Regions from separate parts of the Homo sapiens genome. Here regions 1 and 2 are each linked to region 3. Evidence: promoter capture Hi-C in 16 types of primary human blood cells and fetal thymus (Javierre and others, 2016). All regions are on one chromosome and are shown on one strand. Each heading gives the region's core, a stretch centred on a gene start or on the middle of the fragment in contact. The rest is flanking DNA. Distances are from core to core; before and after follow the strand shown. Region 1 has its middle 12 kb from the start of CMSS1. Region 2 holds the start of HP09053 (a long non-coding RNA gene). Region 3 holds the start of CLDND1 (claudin domain containing 1).

What was found. Contacts are between HindIII fragments. The CHiCAGO score rates a contact against its expected background, and 5 or more counts as called.
Region 1: a contact is called between a fragment that was not itself captured here and the fragment with the promoter of CLDND1 in region 3, in 4 of 17 cell types (total B cells, total CD4 T cells, naive B cells and 1 more). The highest score is 12.0, in total B cells.
Region 2: a fragment that was not itself captured here is called in contact with the fragment with the promoter of CLDND1 in region 3 in 7 of 17 cell types (total B cells, total CD8 T cells, naive CD4 T cells and 4 more); the score reaches 11.5 in total B cells.

What each region holds. Positions count from the first base shown.
Region 1 is chr3:99,804,626-99,807,458 of GRCh38, forward strand. No RefSeq gene overlaps it. Among named protein-coding and RNA genes, the nearest start is that of CMSS1, 12 kb to the right of the region's middle. The HindIII fragment of the contact is 4,083 bases long and covers 1-2,833 here.
Region 2 is chr3:99,822,048-99,824,834 of GRCh38, forward strand. All of the region lies in intron 1 of CMSS1 (cms1 ribosomal small subunit homolog), which reads left to right. It overlaps HP09053 (a long non-coding RNA gene), which reads right to left and starts at 1,818. Exons shown (of 3, transcript NR_110821.1): 1 at 1,697-1,818. All of the region lies in intron 1 of LOC105374010 (a long non-coding RNA gene), which reads left to right. The HindIII fragment of the contact is 318 bases long and covers 1,237-1,554 here.
Region 3 is chr3:98,521,505-98,524,204 of GRCh38, forward strand. It overlaps CLDND1 (claudin domain containing 1), which reads right to left and starts at 1,398. Exons shown (of 5, transcript NM_001040181.2): 1 at 1,345-1,398. CLDND1-AS1 (CLDND1 antisense RNA 1) reads left to right here and starts at 1,066. Exons shown (of 2, transcript NR_198998.1): 1 at 1,066-1,329. RefSeq lists silencers at 845-954, 1,005-1,644. The HindIII fragment of the contact is 2,905 bases long and covers 581-2,700 here.

The DNA of each region.
Region 1 (2,833 bases), core at 324-2,823, 1.3 Mb after region 3:
CCAAGATACAATGGAGGTATAGGCATTGGGTAAATACTCCCATTCCAAAAGGGAGAAATTGGCCAAAACAATTGGGCTAGAGGCCCCATGCAAGTCTGAAACTCAGTAGGGCAGTCCTGAAATCTTAAAGATCCAAAACAATCTCCTTTGACTCCATGTCTCACATCCAGGGCACACTGATTCAACGGATGGGCTCCCAAGATCTTGGGCAGTTCCACCCCTACAGCTTTGCAGGGTTCAGCTCCCAGAGCTGCTCTCAAAGGCTGATGTTGAGTGCTTGTAGCTCTTCCAGGCAACAGGTGCAAGCTGTTAGTGTATCTACCATTCCAGAGTCTTGAGGAAGGTGGCCCTCTTCTCACAGCTTCACTAGGCAACACTCCAGTGGAGACTCTGTGTGGGAGCTACAGTCCCACGTTTCCCCTCTGCAATGCCCTGGTAGGGGTTCTCCATGAGGGCTCTGCCCCTTCAGCAGGCTACTGTCTGGACATCCAGGCTTTTCCACACATCCTCTGAAATCCAGGTGGAGGTTCCCAAGCCTCAACTCTTGCACTCTGCATACCCACAGGCTTAACAGCATGTGGAAACCACCAAGGCTTATGGTTTGCACCTTCTGAAGCAGTGGCCCAAGCTGTACCTGGGCCCCTTTGAGCCACAGCTGGAGCGAGAATGGCTGGGATGCAGGGAGCAGTGTCCCAAGCCTGCACAGGGTAGTCAGGCTCTAAGTGAGGCCCACAAAACCATTCTGTCCTCCCAGGCCTCCAGGCCTGTGATGGGAGGGGCTGCCACAAAGATCTCTGAAATGCCTTGGAGGCATTTCCCCCATTGTCATGGCTATCAGCATGTGCCTTCCTTTTAGCTATACAAATTTCTGCAGCCAGTCTGAACTGCTCCCCGGAAAATGGGCTTTTCTTCTCTACCACATGACTAGTTTGCAAATTTTTCAAACGTTTATGTTTTGCTTCCCCTTTAAACGTAAGTTCTAGTTTTATGTCCTTTCTTTGCTCATACATTATTAGCATAGGTTGTTAGAAGCAGCCAGGCCACATCTTCAACACATTGGTGCTTAGAAATTTCTTCTGCCAGATACCCCAAATCATCACTCTCAAGTTCAAAGTTCCATAGATTCCTAGGGCAGGGGTACAATGCCACCAGGTTCTTTGCTAACACATAACAAAAGTAACCTTTGCTCCAGTTCCCAATAAGTTCCTCACTTTCATCTGAGATCTCATTACCCTGGACCTCATTGTCCATATCATTAACAGCATTTTGGTCATAACAGTTTAACAAGTCTCTGAGAATTTCCAAATTTTCCCTCATCTTCCTGTCTTCTTCTGAGCCCACCAAATTGTTCAAACCTCTGCCTGTTACCCAGTTCCAAAGCTGATTTCACATTTTCAGGTATCTTTATAGCAATGCCCTACTCTTCAGTATCAATTTTCTGAATTAGTCTGTTCTTGCACTGCTATCAAGAAATACCTGAGACTGGGTAATCTACAAAGTAAAGAGATTTAATTGACTCACAGTTCTGCAGGCTGTACAGGAAGCACTGGGGCATTAGATTCTGGGGAGGCCTCAGGGAGCTTCCAGAGGGGTAACAACTGCTACCATTTAGTGAGTGCCAACCATGTGCCACAAACTGCTTTAAATGTTTTTATGTATTGACTTAGTTACTCCTCATAATAACTCTATTATTAGCTCCATTTTACAGCTAAAGAAATGGAGGCACTGGGCATGGTGGCTCACACTGGTAATCCCAGCATTTTGGGAGGCGAAGGCACAAGGATGACTTGAGCCCCAGAGTTCAAGACCAGCCTGGGTAACATAGTAAGACCCTGTCTCTACAAAAAATATTTAAAAATTAGCCAGTGTGGTGGTGTGCACCTGTAGTACCAGCTACTTGGGAGGCTGGGGAGGAAGGATCCCTTGAGCCTAGGAGTTCAAACCTTCAGTGAGCTATGACTGTGCCTGCACTCCAGCCTAGGCAACAGAGTGAGACCCTGGGGGAAAAAAAAAGAAAGAAAGAAAGGAAGAGAGAAAGACAGAAAGAAAGAGAGAGAAAAGACAAGACAAGAAGCAGAGACATAGTAACTTGTCCAAGATCTAATAAATGACAATGCCATGATTTTAATGCAGATATCTGGCTTCACAGTCCATGCTCTCAGGTATTATGCCAGATCGCCTCCTCAAGGAAGGAGACAAAAGTTCTTAGCTATCTAAGAAGCAAACAACTGCCAGTGAGGGTTCAGGAGATGACAGGGCTCTCTGTTGTTTCTTGATTATTGTGCTTACCAGAGACAACAGATATAGTCAGCTACAAAAAGACTATGACAGATGTCATGGTGACATTCCCATCCCTTAGAATATATAAAGGCAGCAGGTTTTGAAAAGGAAAGGGACCTACCTCATACTTATTAGGAAGACTACTATCAAAACAAACAAAAACCAGATAATAACAAGTATTGGCAAGGATGTGGAGAAACTGGAACCCTTGTGCACTGCTTGGGGGGAATGTGAAACTGGACCACTGTGAAAAACAGTATGGTGGTTTCTCAAAAAATTAAAAATAGAGTTACCATATGATCAAGCATTTCCACTTCTGGTATATACCCAAAAGAATTGAAAGCATGAACTCAAACATACATGTGTATATTCATGTTCATAGCAGCATTATTCACAATATCTAAAAGGTGGAATTAACCCAAGAGGCCACTAATGGATGAATGAATAAACAAAATGTGGCCTATAATGCAATGGACTATTATTCAGCCTTAAAAAGGAAGAATATTTTGACACATGCTATAACATGGATGAACCTTGAGGACATTATGCCAGT
Region 2 (2,787 bases), core at 146-2,645, 1.3 Mb after region 3:
AAAAAAGAAAAAAGAAAATGTTACTTGATCATTTACTCACTGAAGATGAAGAGAATACTAATTGCTTTCCCTTTTTATTTCAATGACATACCTATTAAATTACCAAGTCGAGTACCCAGTAGGCAGCTAAGTATGTGAGTCTGGAGCCCCAGGGCCAGATCCAGGCTGAGATACAGATTTAGGAATAACTGGCATACAGATAGGTTATTTTTAAAGAGCATGTTCTTAGCAGTCTGTAACATTGAGCCTCCATGTCTTTTAAGGAGGGTCTTTCATATGCCTCCCCAACTCATTCTGAATCTTTGATGACATCTCTTCCCAAGCACCTAACTAGAAAACTGAAGTGTTAAGACACTGCTATGTACAGTGCCAGGAGACTGCAGGTAATAATACCAGCTTGCGGCCAGGCGCAGTGGCTCACGCCTGTAGTCCCTACACTTTGGGAGGCTGAGGCAGGTGGATCACCTGAGGTCAGGAGTTTGAGAACAGCCTGGCCAATGTGATGAAACCCTGTCTCTACTAAAACTACAAAAAATTAGCTGGGCGTGGTGGCACGCACCTGTAATCCCAGCTACTCAGGAGACTGAGGCAGGAGAATTGCTTGAACCCAGGAGGCGGGGGTTGCAGTGAGCCGAGGTCGTGCCACTGCACTCCAGCCTGGGCAATAAGAACAAAACTCCATCTCAAAATAATAATGATAATAATAATAATAGTAATAATACCAGCTTGCATTTGTTGAGCACTTAACTACCTGCCAGATGCTGTTTTGATTGCTTTACATGTTCTAGTTAATTTAATCTTCCCAAGTACACCAGCGGTAGTTACTGTTGTTATCTTTATTTTACTGATGAGGAAGTTGAGACACTGAGAAATTAAGTGATTTACTTAATACTATTTAATTTAATTCACCCAATACTATCTATTTAATTGGTAAATAGGGGAGCTGTGATTCATATGCAGGCAGTCTGAAACCAGAGCCTGTGTGCTTATATTTCGCATTCTCATTATCAGTGGTAAGAATCTCATCTCTAAAGGAATAATCTGTTATCGGCTTAAAGAGACTCATAATTTAGAAAGTCTTTTGTTTATATATCATTATGAAATTGTGTCTATTAGTTTTCCAAAGTTTACTCTTTTAAAGAACACTGGTTACTTGGAGCTACAAATAAGCAGCTTTTCCATTTGGGCTTTGAGAACCATTTCTGCCAGTAACTCAAACCTGATCCTGGAGCTCAAAGCTTAACATATGTGGCTGCCTTCTTTAAATCTTTACTTAGTTATTTAATAGGGATGTCAAATGTAAACAAGACCCAGCTACTGAATTATTCTCCAAACCTGCTTTTTCTCCAAACTTTCCTGTCTCCATAAATTAAACCACCAACTACCCAATTTCACAAAGGCCTAGCAGTATTCTGATTTATTTATTTTTTTCACCCCTATATCTCATCCATCAAGTCCTGTTGTCACTACCTCGAAAACATATCCTGATTCTTTCTTTGCATTTTTCTTCGCTCTGCCTCCATTGGAGTATACATTTTCATCCTTACTGCCATAAGCTTCTAACAGGGCTCAGAGTTTCCACCTTGTCCCTCACTCACCAGCTAGAGGCCTTTTGAAAAGAAGTCAGGCCACTTTCCTGCTTAAATCTTCCAATAGCTTTTTCCCTGGCACATAGAATGAAATTCAGATTACTTACCATGGCTGGTGGCCACCAGGTCTTCTACTATTTACTCCCCTATAGTTTATGCTGCCCCACCCACACCAGCCTTCATTCTGTTCCTCAGTAGGCCACACTCATTCTGTCTTACTTAGCCGTTTGTGTTAGCTGTTCTTTTCCTTTCTGTCCTGTCCTTCTGATTGGCTGGCTTTCTTTCTTTCTTTTTTTTTTTTTTTGAGCTGGAGTCTCGCCCTGTCACCCAGGCTAGAGTGCAGTGGTGCGATCTCAGCTCACTGCATCCTCCACCTCCTGAGTTCAAATGATTCTCCTGTCTCAGCCTTCTGAGTAGCTGGGATTACAGGCGCCTGCCACCACACCCAGCTAACTTTTGTATATTTAGCAGAGACGGGATTTCACCATGTTGACCAGGCTGATCTCGAACTCCTGAGCTCTTGATCCGCCCGCCTCAGCCTCCCAAAACACTGGGATTACAGGCATGAGCCACCAGGCCCGGCCAGCTGGCTCTGTCTTAACATTAAGTACTCAGTTCAAACGTCACCTACTCAGAGTGGCGCTTCCTGATCAGGCAGTCTAGAGTAACTATCTAGGTGCTCTATTACATTATCACAATATCTATTAAATTATTATGTTATTATAATTCTCAGCAGAGCACTTAGCACCAACTATTATTTTTCCTTGTTAAATTAATTACTTTTTCCCAGCAGTAGACTGTAAGAGCTCCATGTGAGCAGGTATTTTGTTTGTCTTGTTTGCTTTAGTTTCAGGGCCTAGAGTAGTATCTGGATACAGCGAAGGCACTCATTAAGTATTTGTTAGTTAACCAATTAATTATTAATATTTCGTAGTCACACCTTGAAGACCTCAACCTAGGAGATCTTTATCAAAAGAACCTTGATCTGCTGGCAGATTTGTCAAACTCCTGTCCAGGCTTTTGACAGATTTGGCAAATGCCGCTTTTCTCTTTTCAAAATTACATTAGTAGTCCTTGTAAAACTGTGTCTAACATTTTATTGTAACCATATTTGGATTTAATTTTATAAATTACGTTTGGAAAGAGGACAAGAGACTCTTTGTAAATAAGCCTGTAATTTTTACTGGTGACAGCTTTT
Region 3 (2,700 bases), core at 148-2,647:
TGAATTATTCCAAATGCACCCTTTACCCAATTCCCCATCCCTTCGTACATATAACCATTAAGAATTTTTTTTAGAAAGCAAGCATGTTTTTAATTAAGCTTAAAACAAAACTCATTCTCATAAAAGTACTTATTGAATGCTCACATACCCAGGATGCTACGGAGACAGAGGTCTTGTTCTCTAGTCTATCACCTGCATACTAAAACAGACAACACTGAAATGGACATACACATTACAGATACAAACAATAGACATGCCCATGGTCAGCAGTGTACCGTGCACACATTTTAAATTACAGACTGAATTTTTGCACGAGCTGCAGAGGATTAAGTGTTCTGGGTTTGAGTGTTAAAAAGGCACAGGAAAAAGAAGCAGTGGAAATTGGCTTCTCCCAGTTTCCTCTGAAGAGGGAAGCCTCCTAAAACAAAGGTAAGAGTCAGGAGCCATACAGAAAACAGAGTTGAAGATGTTTGTTAACCCCGAGGGAAAGGTTGTTCTAGGTGTATAAAATAGCAAAGAGAACAATAACATGTAATAATGCTAGATAGCAATCTCTCCCTAATCCATTAAAGCTAAGCCAAGCTTCTTTACGCTGCCAAATGCTTCACTCCTATCTACTCTCCCGATTCCTTATACTTCTGAACCTCCTCAACAGAAATCTTGCTCTCTCCCTAAATCCTCAGTGCAACATACGTCCGCAAAAACTAAATGATCCCTCCTCAGCCAGACAGAAAACTCTCAACATATCAACACTCCCAAGGCGTGGACAGGGCTCAACGGCAGTAGTAAATGGCCGCGGTAAAATGACTCAAGGCAGATCGCGCTGAGTCAAATACTACACGGCAAGTATACACCGTGACCGCACCAAACACCTTACAAAGGTTCATGAAAACAGACTCGCAAACTGGGGTTGCTGAGTTTGGAAAATGGGAAGTGACTCAGGAAAGATAAGAGCAATGACAACGAAAACTCAAAAAGTTGGATTTGTATTTTGATTTTTTAAAAATCCCCCCTTCATCCTGGTGCTCTCAAATGACCTTAAAGGGTCCCAGCACTGGGAACGGCGGTTCGTCCAAGCCGGACGCCTGCAGCAGCCACCTCCTGGGCCTCACGGCGGGGCCGGAGAAGGCCAGGGCTGGGGCGGGGCAGCCGTGCTCGGCCCCGGGCCAGGGTCCCCCGGTACCCGACCAGGCCCCGCCCTAGAGGGCTCGGCCCTGGGACAAATCCGCCGCTCGGAACCCGCCCAGCCCGACCACGCCCGGGAAGGGGGCCCCTCTTCAAACCGCCGGGAACATGGAACCGCGACGCGACCCCTGCCCGGCGACGCAGGTCCCGCTCACTCACCGCCCATCCTCCTGCTCCGCCAGCTTCACCCTCTAGCTCAGACCACAGCACCCTACTCTCCCCGCGCCTCCTCTGACGCACTTCCCTGCAGAGCCCGCCCCCTCCATAACTCCCGCGCCTCCGCCCGCCCCCACTCCGGGCCGGGCCGCGGCCCGGGGCCGAGGGGCCTTGTGGGAGTTGTAGGAGGGACAGACTGAAAGCTGTCTGAGGCGGCGATAGGCATTCCTGGCGCCGCGCGCGGCGCATTGTGGGAGATGTAGTTCAGCTCCTCAGGGCAAGCCGGTACGCAGAAGGGAAGTCTAGGCTGTTGGATTCTTGCATTTTAGGGAGGAAGGGAGAATGGTCCAGAAAGTAAAGCGGGCCTGTTTCCGGTCATCTCGAGTCAATGACCGTGACTTGTATAACTTAGATCTGACTTTTAGGCCTGTGCTTTCCCTATCACACCACCCTGCCTCTAGATCTAAGTATAAATGAACAAAAATGGGATTCTACTTGTGAAACGTTGACCCATTTTATTTCCCTCTCCCAGAATCCCTCCCATTGGAGCAGAGCATCCTTCTGGTTTTATTGCATAAGTTTAGGCTAAGAAGTATGTGACCTGGCAGACAGTATCCATCAAGAATGTAATGATATTATTTGGGTTTCATAAAATGTGTTTGTAGCTGCCTTCTTTTTATGACAAGTGATACTAGTTTTCTATTGCAGCAATGTTGTTCCTTTTAAATTCTTTTCACTTATTTTAAAAACTATTAAGTTAATAATACTGAGGATACCAGATATGTCAAAAAATGAATAAAAAATTGTGGGTATAGTAGGAAAAAGACTGAAATTTGGGGAACATCACTCAAGCAGATAAGGTCATGGACAGCATTGGAGATTGCAGATGATGTGTGGCACAGGGGCAACAATGATTCTGAACCCTCAGGTTTAACACAGAAATTCATGGACAGGAAGCAGGGACATCTTAACAATAACATGAGTGGAACTATTAACGTGGCCTGGGACCAGCAAATGGTGGATTTCTCAACAGTAACCGACAGAGAAAGCTGACTCAAGGACCAGAGGGGCTCTCAAACCCCCACTCTGTCCCCTAATGCCTTGTAATTTAGCATAGGAGAAAGATGGGAGCTGCAAGTTGATATTAAATTTCTACCACTTTGACAGATTAAAGGCATGATATGTTTCTCTATCTGTACTTACATTTCTTTGACCTGAGTGGGTGAAACTGATATTCATATGCAGCACATAATAAGGTAGTAGCCAAATATATTCAAACATGACTCTGGATTTTCATATACAGCATATAATCAAAAAAAAATTTGTCAGAGGCACCAACTAGAGAAAGTGATGGAGAGG